Regions from separate parts of the Homo sapiens genome. Here regions 2 and 3 are each linked to region 1. Evidence: promoter capture Hi-C in human tissues and cell types (Jung and others, 2019). All regions are on one chromosome and are shown on one strand. The core of a region is centred on a gene start or on the middle of the fragment in contact, and the rest is flanking DNA. Distances in the headings are between cores, read along the strand shown.

The links. The method cuts DNA at HindIII sites, captures the fragments that hold promoters and counts their contacts. A contact is called where the count stands out against the background at its distance.
Region 2: a contact is called between a fragment that was not itself captured here and the fragment with the promoter of FAM110B in region 1, in 1 of the 25 tissues and cell types used here (lymphoblastoid cells).
Region 3: a fragment that was not itself captured here is called in contact with the fragment with the promoter of FAM110B in region 1 in 1 of the 25 tissues and cell types used here (mesenchymal stem cells).

What each region holds. Positions count from the first base shown.
Region 1 is chr8:57,992,046-57,996,984 of GRCh38, reverse strand. It overlaps FAM110B (family with sequence similarity 110 member B), which reads right to left and starts at 2,462. Exons shown (of 4, transcript NM_001377989.1): 1 at 2,179-2,462. RefSeq lists an enhancer at 1,511-2,011 and silencers at 2,016-2,065, 2,086-2,135. The HindIII fragment of the contact is 16,250 bases long and covers 1-4,939 here.
Region 2 is chr8:58,541,657-58,546,595 of GRCh38, reverse strand. No RefSeq gene overlaps it. Among named protein-coding and RNA genes, the nearest start is that of SDCBP, 9.1 kb to the left of the region's middle. The HindIII fragment of the contact is 6,579 bases long and covers 1-4,939 here.
Region 3 is chr8:57,473,804-57,478,742 of GRCh38, reverse strand. All of the region lies in intron 1 of LOC105375855 (a long non-coding RNA gene), which reads right to left. Among named protein-coding and RNA genes, the nearest start is that of LINC00588, 200 kb to the right of the region's middle. The HindIII fragment of the contact is 6,465 bases long and covers 1-4,939 here.

The DNA.
Region 1 (4,939 bases), core at 1,213-3,712:
AAAATATCTAAATAGGAAACACAATCTTTGGTTACTAACACATGGCAAATAAGTAGTTTTAAATAAGTGAGTTTTCTTATCTTAGCTAGTTAGGCTATAAATCCTGCTCTAAAATATTTTAAAGCATGAAAAAGAATTAAATGCTCTGGTTGTTGTATATACAGTAGACATATTTATCTTTTATCATCTTTTAACACTGTGAGAGTTACTTAACTCTGCTGTACCAACGGTTCTTTCCATTGGGAATTGGAAGTGGGATTCTAAACCTAGAGAACAAGGGAGTGCAGGGGAGGTAAGGAATGGGGTTCAGAGCCCAGGTCTTCCCTAATGTGGAGGCCTCTCTTTAAACAATTAGGCTCTTAAAGACAACCAGGTCTCCTTATGAAAGGCACCAGGGCATGACTGGGTTCAAGACTGATGTCTTGCCCTTAGAGATCCAATATATAAGATGAATTAAATCAACCCTCACCATGCATAAGGATACGCAGAGAAGCCTGTCAGTCATAGGCATAATAACAACCCAACCTCAGCCCTGATCTAAAATTAAAACCACAGACTTAAAATAGATCATGACCTAACAGATCAGAATTTTAAAAATCAAAACGACCATTTTCCAAACAGAAAATAACACATAGCTTGATAAGAAAAATTAAAAGTAATATTAGCTGACACCTAGAACTATATGCAAGGCACTGTTCTAAGCACTTTATGTCAGGCTAACAAGGCACCAACCACCTCTCTGTTCAATTAGTGACTTTACATGTACAATCTATAGTAATACTACAGATTAAATACCGTAGGGTAAACCAATGGGATGTTATCAGTGAAGGATTCTAGTTTACCATTAACTCACCTTTATTCTAGAATAACTATGCTTAATAAATAGCTTACCTGAATGACCAGGGGTTGTGATGTCACAAAAATGAGTACAAGAAATTAATACAAGTATCTTCCCAGAAATCACTACGTGTAAACTGGGGGGAAAATAATAAATACCTTCTTCACCAACAAAGGAAACGAAGAAAATGGAAGTCCTACTATCCATACTGCAAAAATGCTTATTCTACTATCATATTCCCTTTTGAGAAATAGACCAGTTACGCCAGAAGTGCAATGTTGTCACAGATGTGTGCCAGATTTTGCAGAGGACATAAGTTGGCTGTGAGGAAGAACACAGAGGTTGCCTATTTTTTAGGCAGGAAAGAAAGCCTGCACTTTTCTGTGTGTGTGTGTCAATAAATCTGAATAACAACTTGAAAGGGTTAAAAAGCTGAGCACCAGGTGTTTTCTTTCCACTTTCCAGAGTAATTTAAGCACACTGCAAAGTTATCTCCCTTCCTTCCCCACGAGCCAGCTTAAGGGAGACCTGTCACTGCCATTTACACTGTACAGCTCCAGCTCTAAACAATAGGAGGGCACCAGGCTGGGCAGCAGGCATCGCGGCTTCCCACAGCCTGTATGGGCTTTGTTGCCAAGTTATGAGCTCCGCTGGGTGATGGAGACACGAGTGAGCCAAGGAGAATTTAATTCTATTTCAAATCTGTATGCTTTCAAAGAAAATAGAGACAATTGAGGCCACGGGAGGAGCTGGAGGGGGTAACCAAAAACAAACTTTCGGAACCTCAGAATCTACATTTCTAGCAGTAATTCTCAGCAAAGGATTAGGTGGTATTGATACTCTCATAAAGTATTTAACACCGAGATTAGAGACCATTCAGGAGCGGTGGCCGAGCGGAGTCCCCATCCTTCGTAGTCCCACTCCTCCAGCAGCAACCGGCGGCGCGCTTTCGGAGCCCACCTCCGCTCCGCAGCGCGGCCAGCTTCCCCCCGCCCTGGCTCCAACCCCGGCTCCAGCCCCGGCCCCGTGCCCAGCCTCCTAGCCGAGCCCGGGACGTGCAGCCAAGCCGAGCGCAGAGGGGGCGCGGGGCAGGCAGCGGCGCTGCGCCTCCCCCGGCAGCCCAGAAAGCCGGACGGGGTCCGCCTGGGCCAGTGAGGCCGGGCTCAACGGAGACCCGGGCCGGGCGGGGAAGCTGCAGGCGCAGAGCCGGCTTAGCTCCGCGCCGCCTGGCCGCGCGCAGCTCCCGCATTGTCCGCAGTCGGGGCGCGGCGCGACCACTGAACCCGAATCCCAACCCCCGCCCAGCAGTCTCTCTCCCGGCCCCCACGGCCCAGTCTTACCTGGGCCGCTCACCCCAGTCCCTGGCGGTGCGGCCCGAGCCGGGAGCCAGGCTCCGGGGGACTGCAAGGAGGGAGAGTCGGGGCCCGCGAGGGACGAAGGGCCGAGAGCGGGCTGTAGGGGCCGCCGAGTGTTCACGGTCGCCGCCGCGGGGCCGCGGGTAGAGAGCAGACGGGGCTGGCGGAACGGGCCCAGGACGCGCGGCCGCGAAGGGCCCGGCTGGCGGCGGCCGCGATGGTTCGGTCTGCACCGAGTGGGAGGGCTCAGGCAGGCTTCGCCGGAGAGTGAGGGAGGGAACTTGGAGCCAGTTGCTGTGGCCGAGAGCGCGTGTCCCTGAGCCAGTGTACACGCCCCTCGTACACCCCGCCCCGCCTCCATCCCGCCCCCACCCCACCTTCCGGGTCCCCACCCTTCTCGCACCTCCACTCCAAGCCCTGCCTCTCTCTCAACATCTCCACCCCGCTACTGATGCCCATCCCACCCCATCCCTGACCCACCCCCCATTCCACTCGGTCGGCGCCTCCATTTCCTCCCTATCCCCCACTCCCACCTATGTCCGCACGCAAGCACCCCCACCCTGCTCCCACCCGGTGATACCGCTGGATCTCGGACTGCCACCCCAGTGCAGATCGCTCAGCACTGGAGACGTAGAGCCTGTGCCCTGAATGAGATAACCCCACCTGGTAGTCCAGCCATCCAAACGTCTTGGTGCTTGACATTTTCTGTTTACTAACTTTCATATACTCAGATGGAGCGTCCTAGCTTAATTTCTGAAGGCATTTTTAAGACTTCAAAAAAATGTTTGGAGAAAATAGTAAATAACGAAAAATATCAAGCATGATGTACTACCTCTGAAATGTGGGCCAGCTGATGTTTTAAAATGAAATGCTTTGGGGTGCGTCATTATTAATCGCCTAATATAGTATTTGAGAATACTTTCTGCTTAGATTTGCTTAATAACTTGGTTGTTTCAGGAGAGGATTTGTTTTAGGAAGACTAAACACATTGTAATTTAATTTTGCTATTGGGAAGTCTAAAAGATAAAATCCATCTTTATCAAAATGAATTTGAATGGGATATGGACTCACAAAATAATTGTTTCTTCTAGAAAATATTGAGCAAGGATTTCTTTTTAATCTCTGGTACATTAACAATACGATTTCACTCATCTCATTTTCTCAGAAAGATCGTTTATATTTGAATTGTGCTTCAATTCAATGAATCTATTGTTTCATAATAGTTAAGAAGTTGCCAACTAAATAAAACTCAGACTTTATAATAATATATTTTTTTTCTATTTAAAGATTACCATTTTAAGAAAGTGACATGATACTGGGATTTAAATGGAACTTTCCTTTGGCATACTAATACATTCCTTGTTATCACAGATTACGTTGTGGTCTCCATTAACTCCAAAAGTCATATAACAATAGAAATAAACTATTTTTCATCATTCCCATAGCAAATGGAACCAACTTCTCTCCCTCTCAAGTATACTTTTTTTCCCCACTTCTTTGCCCCAATCCCTTCCTTTTAGGAATTTCCCCCTCCCATTGGGTGTGACTAGCCCACAGAGCTTCCTGACATTGTGAGGGATATGACCCAGGCCAGCCAATTAGAATATCGTCTGAGAACAAAGGAGGAGGGTCCTTTCCCTGACTGACAGGGCAGCTCCTGGGACCATATCATATATGCGTGCAGCAGCTGGAGTCAACTTACTGGAGAATAAAACAAAACCAGAAAAAAAGCCAAACTGAGCAATGGAGACAGAAAAGTGCCCTGATGACATCAATGGCCATCCGAAGACAGTCACCTCTAAAACCAGTCAAATCCTGAACTTCTGAAGTAATGCACCAATAAATTGTCTTTCTTGCTTATGCCATTTTGAGTTAAGTTTCTTTCCAGAAGACTCACTTATAAAATCATAAAAGATTCCCCTATGATCGATGCTTTGAAAATCAGGAATGTAACCAATGAGTTTTAGCTTTCTTTCTTTTTTTTTTTTTTTTTTTTTTTGATGACAGAGTCTCACTCTGTCACCCAGGCTGGAGTGCAGTGGCATGATCTCCACTCACTGCAACCTCCACCTCCTGGGTTCAGCAATTCTCCTGCCTCAGCCTCCCGAGTAGCTAAGATTATAGGCACGGGCCACCACGCCCAGCTAATTTTTGTATTTTTAGTAGAGACGGGATTTTGCCATGTTGGCCAGGCTAGCCTGGAACTCGTGACCTCAGGTGATCCACCTGCCTCAGGCGCCCAAAGTTCTGGGATTACAGACGTGAGCCACTGCGCCGACCAAGTTTTAGCTTTTCTATTGCCTAAACTACTTCTTGATAATAAAGTATATGCCAAGGAGTTCACTTAGTAGGACCCCTAACTCTTATTATTAAGGTTCTCATTTAGGGTTTTACTATTGCCCAGTGTAGATTTAATAGCCCCAAATTGTCATCACCAAAACCAAAAACCAATAAAAGATGTGGTTAAAGAGACAGAGAGAACACAGTAAAACATCTATGCTGGAATATTTCAGTAAATATTGTCTTATCAATTATGCCAATAAAACTGCTCTCATAATCCCTAATGTTTGCTGATTTAGGACATAGTTTTCTTGTTTTGGGGACTGAAAATGTTAAGGACTGCTACAGATTTTCAGAGAATGTTGAAATTAGTTGTTTGTACTAGAATTTTATTGTGTTGTTTATTCTTCAGAAGTGGGCCATTATCCTAGGCTTGGAATTCTTTTGTTTCACAGAGGTTTCTGTC
Region 2 (4,939 bases), core at 1,532-4,031, 550 kb before region 1:
TAGAGGGTGCTAGAAGGAATGTCTCAGAGAAAAGTTGTGTGTTTGGACATAGTGAGGGATTCCTGCTTCTGGAGAAAATGGGGAAGGGAGGAAAGAGGTAAATTGACCAAAATGTAATCACATTACTCTACGTGACTCATGTTTGAATAATATTTATGAAAACATGGTAAGATCAACATATTATTAGTGTAGGCCCAAACCATGATCATAGGTTAACTATGGATGCTAATTTAGTTATTTTCCAGAACATGTTGCTTTCTTTAGGACTTTCAGTAGTCTGATGCAAAAATAAATCCACAAATATAAATACACTGTTACCAAAGATATTATTACATAAAAAATCTCTTTAATATTCCGTGCTATGCCTAAAGTACAGCATTCTTTATTCAAAATGATACTTCTTAGGTCTCTTCCTGTTTTATAATGTTGCTTATGCGTAGGAGTAAAGATAAGAATAATTGCCATACATTTTTATTAGATTTTCAGAACTGATAATTTAATTTTTTTGAAATATCAACATAATACTATGATCATAATTAGCACTATTGCTCTTTCTGAAGATTTTATTTCACAGTAAATGATTTTTTAAAAGTTGATCATTTGCAGGTCACTTGCTCTGTTGAATTATGGAACTTCCTCTTCCTTTTAAAAATCTCAGCCACATGACAAATAAATCAGCCTGCCCTAAACTCCTTATAATATCAGCCTTTGTTCCAGAACACATTTCCCCTCTCAGGGTTTTATGTTCCATCGGCAAGATTATGAACAATGTTTTGTTGACCAGTGAAACCACCACTTAAAACACTCTTCAGCTGACTTTCCTGGAACAAATTTATTTATGTACAATTAGAGGATCTCACTCGAAAGAAAATATATTCCTAAGAATAAATATGTAAATCATATTTTGTCAATGTAGTCACCTTCTAAATGTGCTTCCAAGGGTGCTGTCTATTTGAAAAGAACATTGAAACAAATCATTTTGTAAAGCCTAGACACTTTTGAAAGGTGAATAATTATTCCTTATTTAACATGATTTTTAAGTTTAGATTTAGTATAGCTGGGCATTTTAAAATAGAATATTTTTAAATTTTTGCATAAATTATAATAGTCTCTATTGCTAATTTTTTTTTTTTTTTTTTTTTTTTTTGAGACGGAGTCTCACTCTGTCGCCCAGGCTGGAATGCAGTGACACAGTATCGGCTCACTGCAACCTCCGCCTCCCGGGTCCACGCCATTCTCCTGCCTCAGCCTCCCGAGTAGCTGGGACTACAGGCACCCGCCACCACACCCGGCTAATTTTTTGTATTTTTAGTAGAGACGGGGTTTCACCGTGTTGGGCAGGATAGTCTCGATCTCCTGACCTCGTGATCCGCCCGCCTCAGCCTCCCAAAGTGCTGGGATTACAGGCGTGAGCCACCGTGCCCGGCCTCTATTGCTAAATTGAACATTTCTCCAGGTAGTTATAATTCTACAAAGCTTTTTTTTTTCTTTCTTTTTGAGACTGAGTCTTGCTCTGTTGCCCAGGCTAGAATGCAGTGGTGCTATCGCGGCTCACTGCAACCTCCGCCTCCTGGGTTCAAGCAATTCTCCTGCCTCAGCCTCCTGAGTAGCTGAGATTACAGGTGCACACCACCATGCCCAGCTAATTTTTGTATTTTTAGTAGAGACAGGGTTTCACCATGTTGGTCAGGCTGGTCTCGAACTCTTGACCTCGTGATCCGCCCACCTCGGCCTCTCAAAATGTTGGGAATACAGACGTGAGCCCCTGCACCTGGCCTGTAAAGCTTTTCTTAAAGTTCTTCCATCATCGAATATTTTGCCATAGTGAAGAAATTATTTGTAGTAAAGATTCTATCACATTCATGGCCCATACCTTTTACAGGTGGTAAAAATATTGTTGGTTGACATACCAATAAGTTAAACCTAACTTGTAAATATAAGTTAAATTAACTTATAATACAGCATTTGGATTTTCTTTCAAAGATGTGTTGAATTCTGCTTTCCTAAAGAATTAAAACAAATTTTACATATTTAGAAATGTCTCCCCTTCACAAAATAAGACCATTTTATGGGGCTACCAAAAACCATTAAAGCAAAGGTAAATTGACTTGTGACTTTTTTTTTTAAAGGAGATTTAGTTGTTGACTGGGTCATTTGTTTTATTTCAAGGTCCCATTTTCTACTTTCTTGGACAGGACATTATGAATATTTATGTGGAGAGAAATTAACAAATATATTAGCATACTTTATAGGATGTTTATAACAGAAAATATAAAGAGGTGATCAATAATATACAAGAATATACTATCACAAGTTTGAAATAGCCATGTTGGGAAAAAGGATACAGCTCTTTCTACATCAGTGTTCAAAACAATTTTTATAGAAACCCTAACTACAATATTTTCTGGCTACTTATATTGTTTAATTTATAATAATATCTGTAATATTTAAGAGCATCTGGATTCTGTTGAGAGAGTAAAATCATTTAAGTCTCTGAATGCCTCCACATTCCATAGGAAACGTGCCACACTGGCATTTGAGCTGCCCGGGGATCCATCATTTATTGGCTGATCTCTCTCAACCAGACAGGAGTGTACTCTTTCAGTGTGTTAAAACTTGTTTTTGCTTTTAACTATGGAATTCAATTTGGGATTCTTCCCTAAGTTGTGAATACACACACCCTTAAAAAGAATGCCATATCCTCGGTTCCAAGTTACACATCCAGAAGTGTTCCAGATGTTCAGAGTCAACTATAGCAGTTGTATTTGTGCGGCCAGGGTAATGCATAATTTCTCAACTATATTTATATGGAAAATTACTATTGCTTCTTTCATTCATTTAGTTTCTTGTATGTGGATAATTAGGAATTAAATTTATTTGACTTTTGGATATCAGCCTTATCCTTCAGCTATTAATATAGTTCGTAACTGTATAATTTTACATGGAATCAGAAGTGATCTTTTTTTCACTTTTCTTCCCTGTGGTTTCTTTGGTATCAATCATTCTTTCCTCTGACCAGAACTTCTTGAGGGCTGGGGCTATACTTTAAATGGTCTTTGATGCCTGGCACAGTGCCTGAGGAACTGAAAAGGGTTGCTTCTAGAATTACCGTATTTTCTTGTTTCTAAGAGCAACATTTTTAAAAACCATTTTAACAATTCAGAACTTAAGATGTCTGAAATTATCAATGTCAAAAGAATATTCCCACTGTCGGGCCGAAAAGCAAGTTGAGACTGTTTCCTTCACCCACCCACATGCGACCTTCAGCCAGACTCCAAAGGTATCCCTTCAGCAGATTGTCACCTCAGTTCCATTGTTTGCATTTATAGTGCTCAACAGTGAAATTTCTAACATAAACGAGGGATTCCTAATTTTTGCTGAAATTCATGCCTTCAAAAAGATTACACAATGAAGTAACTCAAAACCATGAGGTAAGAGGCAGCTTTCAATTAAAGGCAATAAAACGAGGCCAGAAACGGATGGGATTTCCCTATCTCATCCTGCACATATTTTAGTTCTAGTTTCCTCTCTGAGGATTAACCCCATCAATGATTGCCCCTATGAAGTCCCAACCTTGACAAGAGAAGCCTGCTCACCAATAAACCTAACATCTGCATACAAGGTGTATCAAATGAGCAGGAGAATTTTTCAGGATCAAGATCTAAGTTGGGCATAAGGAATTAGGAGAAATAAGTGTTTTGTCATTGTGTAAAACCAAAGGTTTGCATAGAGGACACACAACTTGAGAAGAGCCACATGCACAATCAAAATCATAGCGCTCTTACTGTGTTTTGCACCTGTGAGGGAGGTGCAGCAATAAGGCTTCCTGACCATGCTTTGGGGAGATAGAACAACCCCCTGGAGTGAGGCCACTGGCACAAAAGCAGGATGGTGTTCCATGTGTTTACTGCAAGTAAATCTATTAAAACTACCGGGTTTTTACTGGGACTTTTGTTATTATTATTATTACTATTTTGAGACTGAGTCTTGCTCCATCCCCCAGGCTGGAGTGCAGTGATGCAATCTTGGCTCACTGCAACCTCCACCTCCCAGGTTCAAGCAATTCTCGTACCTCAGCCTCCTGAGTAGATGGAATTACAGGTGCCGAATACCACGCCCAGCTAATTTTTGTATTTTTAGTAGATACGGGGTTTCACCACGTTGGCTAGGCTGATCTTGAATTCCCAAACTCAGGTGATCCACCCGCCTCGGCCGCCCAAAGTGTTGGGATTACCGGCGTGAGCCACCGTGCCTGGCCAGGACTTTTGAAAAGTAACAGGATGACATCCATTTTTGCTTAAACCCAAAGAGCCAACCTAGGACACATGATCCATTCTACCTAGTGGGAAATAAAAGTACCATCAGCTCTCCATATTTTCACAGCTAATTCTTCTTGGCATTCCCAATATATCTGTGAAAAACACCTTTAGACATTACTTTTTAAATATCAGATAGTCCCTCAGTTCTAGTCGCCCCCAGAAGCTCCCTTTCCAGAGCCCAGTCTGAGCAGTTTGTGCTTCAGTTGTCCACACAGCTATTTTCCTGGGACTTAGTTCACCATCATCTTGGTCTTTATTCCACGCTCTCCTATGCTGAGTCCCTGATTCCTGCGGTCCCTTGTTCACTGCCTCATTTTGGATGAGCATGTCCTCTAGTGACTTTCTGAGAAAGGAAGCATGAAAGGTAAAATGCTTAAGGCATTGCATTTTTCAAGATTTGATTCTAGTTGTTAAATAAAATTATGGATGGAAGCAGGTTAAAAAGCCAACCCTGACTGAAGAATTGATGTTAAGATGTGAAAAAAGAGTATCAGTTATAGTTTGCTCTGAAGCCAGTCTTCTTGCTTTCTTACATACAGCCATGTCTTTGTAAAACCACATGTGCATTCACACCCAGCTTTGCATTCTACAAAAGCATACACTGGAAATAACTGGGCATA
Region 3 (4,939 bases), core at 1,550-4,049, 520 kb after region 1:
TTGTTTACTGTAGCCACCGTCAATAGTGATCTTATTTAAATATTCTGGATAGCTTGCTACAGTTTCTACATCAGCACTTGCTGCCCTACCTAGGTCTTTTATGTTTGGAGATGGCTTTTTTTTTCTTAAATCGCATGAAGCAATCTTCGCTAACTTCAAACTCTTTTTCTGCAGCTTCCTAACCTCTCTCAGTCTTCATATAATTTAAGAGAATTAGGGTCTTTCTCTGGATTAAAATTTGGCTTAAAGGAATGCTGTGGCTAGTTTGATCTCTCCAGAGCAGTAAAACTTTCTCCATGTCAGCTATAAAGCTATTTCACTTTCTTATCATTTGTGTGCTCACTGGAGTAGCACATTTCATTTCCTTTAAGAACTCACCGTTTGCAATCACAACTTAGCTAACTGTTTGACACAAGTGGCCTTGCTTGTGGCCTATCTCAGTTTTAGTCATGCCTTCCTTACTAAGCCTAATCATTTCTAGCTTTTGATTTAAAGTGAGAGACATGCAACTTTTCCCTTCACTTGAACACTTACAGGTCACTGTAGAGTTACTAATTGACCTAATTTCAATGGTGTTGTGTTTCAGAGAATAGGGGGGCCAGGAAAGAGTGAGAAATAGAGATATGAAGGAATGGCTGGTCATTAGAGCACTAACACACACGACATTTGTTAAGTTCACAGTCTTACATGTACATGTACATCTACATGTATACAGGTTACATTGTATACATAGGTATACAACTGCAATGGTAACATCAAAGATCACTGGTCATATATCACCATAACAGATGTAATAACAATGAAAAAGTTTTAAATATTGCAATAATTACCAAAATAGGCACAAAGACACAAAGTCAGCACAAGCTGTTGAAAAATTAGTGTTGATAGACTTGCTCAATGAGTTGCCACAATTCTTCAATTTGTAAAAAACACAGTACCTGATAAGTGCAATAAAGCAAATCACAATAAAATGAGTTATATTTGTACAATTCTCTTTCCATTCAAATTGAAAAGAGCTAGCAATGTCAGAGAACTGTGCACTATGGTTAGTAGTTCTGTATGATGCATATACATGGTGAAGTTTAATAATACTGAGTAGCAAAAGCCCAAGGAATTATAAAGTTAAGTCCAATTAAACCAAGTACACAATTAATAAAGATGACTGCTTATCCTGAAGGAATAAATAAATTACAAATGTGAATAAAGAATCTGAACCTTGACCCCCTCCCTCCCTTAGAAGGAAAGATGAAATGTGAAAAAAAAAAAAAGATTTGAGCTGATGGTTTAAAATGATTAGCTAGCCCTCAAAGTTTAATGCAGAAAAATATGAAGGATTACTTTTTTAGATATCAAGAATATATTAAGAGTATTTTAAACAACTTTCTGACAAAATTAAATTTGTACTTAAACAAATTTTAGTACAGAACCAGATACACTCACTGGTAAAATTCACCAAACATTTAAAGAAGAATTGATACCAACCCTTCTCAAACTTTTCCAAAATGTAGAAAAGGGAAAAATTTCTAACTAATTTTATGAGGTCAACATTAGCCTGATACTAAATACAAAACAAATCACAAGAAGCCACAAAACTACAGACTAATCTTCCTTATGAATCTTGACATAAAAATCCACAATAAATTATGAGACCGAATCTAACAATACATTAAACACTATGACCAAGTGAGGTTTACCTAGAAATGCAAGGTAAGAATATCAATTAATGTAATATATCACATTAATAGAATAAGGGGAAAAGCCACATGACTATCTTGATTGATACAGAAAAAGCATTTGAGAAAATCTAACATTCTTTCATGATAAAAAGACATTTATGAAAAACCCACAGCTAACATCAATTTCAATGGTAAAAAAAATTGAAAGCTTTCTCCTTAAAATCAGGAGCAAGACAAGGATGCCTAGTTTAAGTACCAATATTCAACATCTTACTGAAAGTTCTACCCAAAGCAACTAGACAAGAAAAATAAATAAAAGTCATTCAAATTGTAAAAGAAGAAATGAAACTATCTCTATTCACATGACATGACTCTCAATATAGAAAATCCCCAAAAATTCACCAAACAAAAGATTCAAATGAATAAACAAATTCAGTAAAATAGCAGAATATAAGCTCAACACACAAAGATCTGTTGTATTTTTAAACAACAGCAATAAACATGATAAAGGAGAAATTAAGAAAATAATTTTATTTACAACAGCATTCGAAGGAATAAAATACTTAGGTGTGTGTTTAACTAAAAAGATTAAAGATTTGTACATTGAAAATTATGAAACATTGCTAAAAGAAATTAAATAAAACCTAAATAAATGGAAAGACACATATATTTATGAACTAGAAAATTTAATATTGTTAAGATGGCAATAATATCCACAATTTTAAAACGATGTAATACATTTCATATTATATTTTAATGGTCTTTTTGCAGATATGAAAAAAGGTGATCCTCAAATTCATATGGAATGTAAGGGGCCCAGAATAATAAAAATGATATTGAAAAAGAACAGCCAATTTGGAAGTCTCACACTTCTCATTTTCAATACTTACTATAAAGTTACAGCAATCAAGAGAATGTGGTACCAACATGAGAATAGTCATACAAATGAATGAAATGGAATTGAGAAGCCATAAAGAGATTCATACATCTATGGTCAATTTAATTTTGACAAGGGTGAAAAGACTCTTCAATAGGGGAAAGAATAATATCTTCAACACATGACACTAAAACAAACGGTCATTCTCATGTGAAATAATGAAGTTGGACTCACATACATCATATAAAAAAATTGACCAGAAATGGATCAGTGACATAAATATGAGAGCTAAAACTATAAATCTTGTAGAAGAATACAGAGCACATCTCTATGATCTTATTTTGACCACAAATTCTTACAAATGGCATAAAAAGCACAAGCAAGAAAATAATAAGTAAATAAATTGGGCTTCATCAAAATTAATACTTTCTTGCATCAAAGGACATTATTAAGAAGGTAAAAAGATAACATACAGAATGGAAAAAAATGTAAATCATATCTAATAAGAGCCTAATATCCAGAAAGGAACTTTTCAATTCAATAACAAAGTCTATCAAGCTCAATTTAAAAATGAACAAAGACTCAAATAGACATTTCTTCAAAGAAGATATATAAAAGGCCAACAAGTACATGAAAAAATGCTTAGCATCATTAGACTTTAGGAAAATATAAATCAAAATGACAATGAAATATCACTTCACATCCACTAGAATGGCCTTATTTTTACCAAAAAAAGTGAAAAATAACAAATATTGAAAATGTAGAAAAACTGGAATACTTGTACATCACTGGTGGAAATGTAAAATGGTTCAATTGCCATGGAAAATATTTTGGCCATTCCTCAAAAGGTTACACATTAAATTACCATATGACCTAGGTTTCCACTGCTAGGTGTATACCTAAAAGAAATGAAAACAGGCACTCAAACAAATACATGTACATGCATGTTCATAGAAGCACCATTTATCATAGTCCTAAATTAGAAGCAATACAAATGTCCATTAACTGATGAATAGGTAAATAAATTCTAATATGTATGTGTGTGTATATATATATATATATATATATATATATATATACACACACACACACACACACACAATAGTTCAATGGTTTGAGTGTTTTTGTCCTTACAAAATTCAGGTTGAAACCTAATTGCCTCTAAAATGCAGGTGAGGCCAATGTAATGATGTTAAAGGTGGAGGAGCCTTTAAGAGGTGATTAGGCCATGAAGGCTTTTCTTTTGTTAATGGGATTAAGGTCCTTATAAAAGAGCCTTCACACAGCTTTAAGCTAGCTTACAAGCCTGACTTTTCACCTTATTCCATGTGACGACACAGTAAGAAGGTACTTACCAGACCAAATGATGGCCCCTTTATCTTGGACTTCCCAACCTCTAGAATCGTGAGAAACACATTTCTGTTCTTTATAAGTTACCCATTCGGTGGTATTCTGTTAAAGCAGTGCAAACAAACTAAGGCAGAAATTGGTACCAGAGAAAAGGGGTATTTCTATAACAGATACTTAAAGATGCGGAAGTGGTTCTGAAACTGGGTAATGGGTAGAAGCTCAAACAGTTTTGAAGTGAATGATGGAAATAGCTTGTAATGCCATGAACAGAACATTGTTACATGTGTAAACATTAAAGGCCATTCTGATGAGGCCTTGTTCCACATGGAAATGTGGAACAAGGTATGGGAAACTAGAGGAAAGGCCAACCTTTTTACAAAGTGGCAAAGAACTTGGCTAAATTATGTTGTGTCCTAGAAAATTTATGGAAGGAAAATCTTACGAGGATGAACTAGTTTTGGCAGAAGAAATGTCTAAGCAGCAAAGCATTCAGGCTGTGATGTGGCTTCTTTTGATGGTTTGTGGTAAAATGCAAGAAGAAAGAAATAATTTAGAGACAGAATTTATAACTAAAAGGGAAGAAAAATGTAAAGCTGTGAAAAATTATCAGCCTAGCTGTGTAAACAATAAATATGTATAGGAGAGAAAGCCAAGAATGTGGCCATAAGGAGATTATTACAGATAGAAACAAGCCATGTGGCTATTCATTAAGAAAATGAGGCAATGACACTGAAGATGTTTCAAAGACCTTTGAGGCTGGCCCTTTGATCACAGGTCCAGACTGTCAGATCCTTGAGGACAGAAAATCTTAAAGAGGTGGGTGCAAGGTACGTATGAGAACACAGGGCTCTCTGCCTAGGGTCGCCTCAGGTCTCTGCTCCTCACATTCTAGAATAGTGTATCTTGGCCACCCAGCTGTGGCTCAAACAGGGCCAAGTTCACTGAATTTTGGGAGCATCCATGTGGTGTTAATTCTACAGCAGAGTACAAGAGCTATGAAGATATAGCTTCCTCCACCTAGATTTCCAAAGATGTT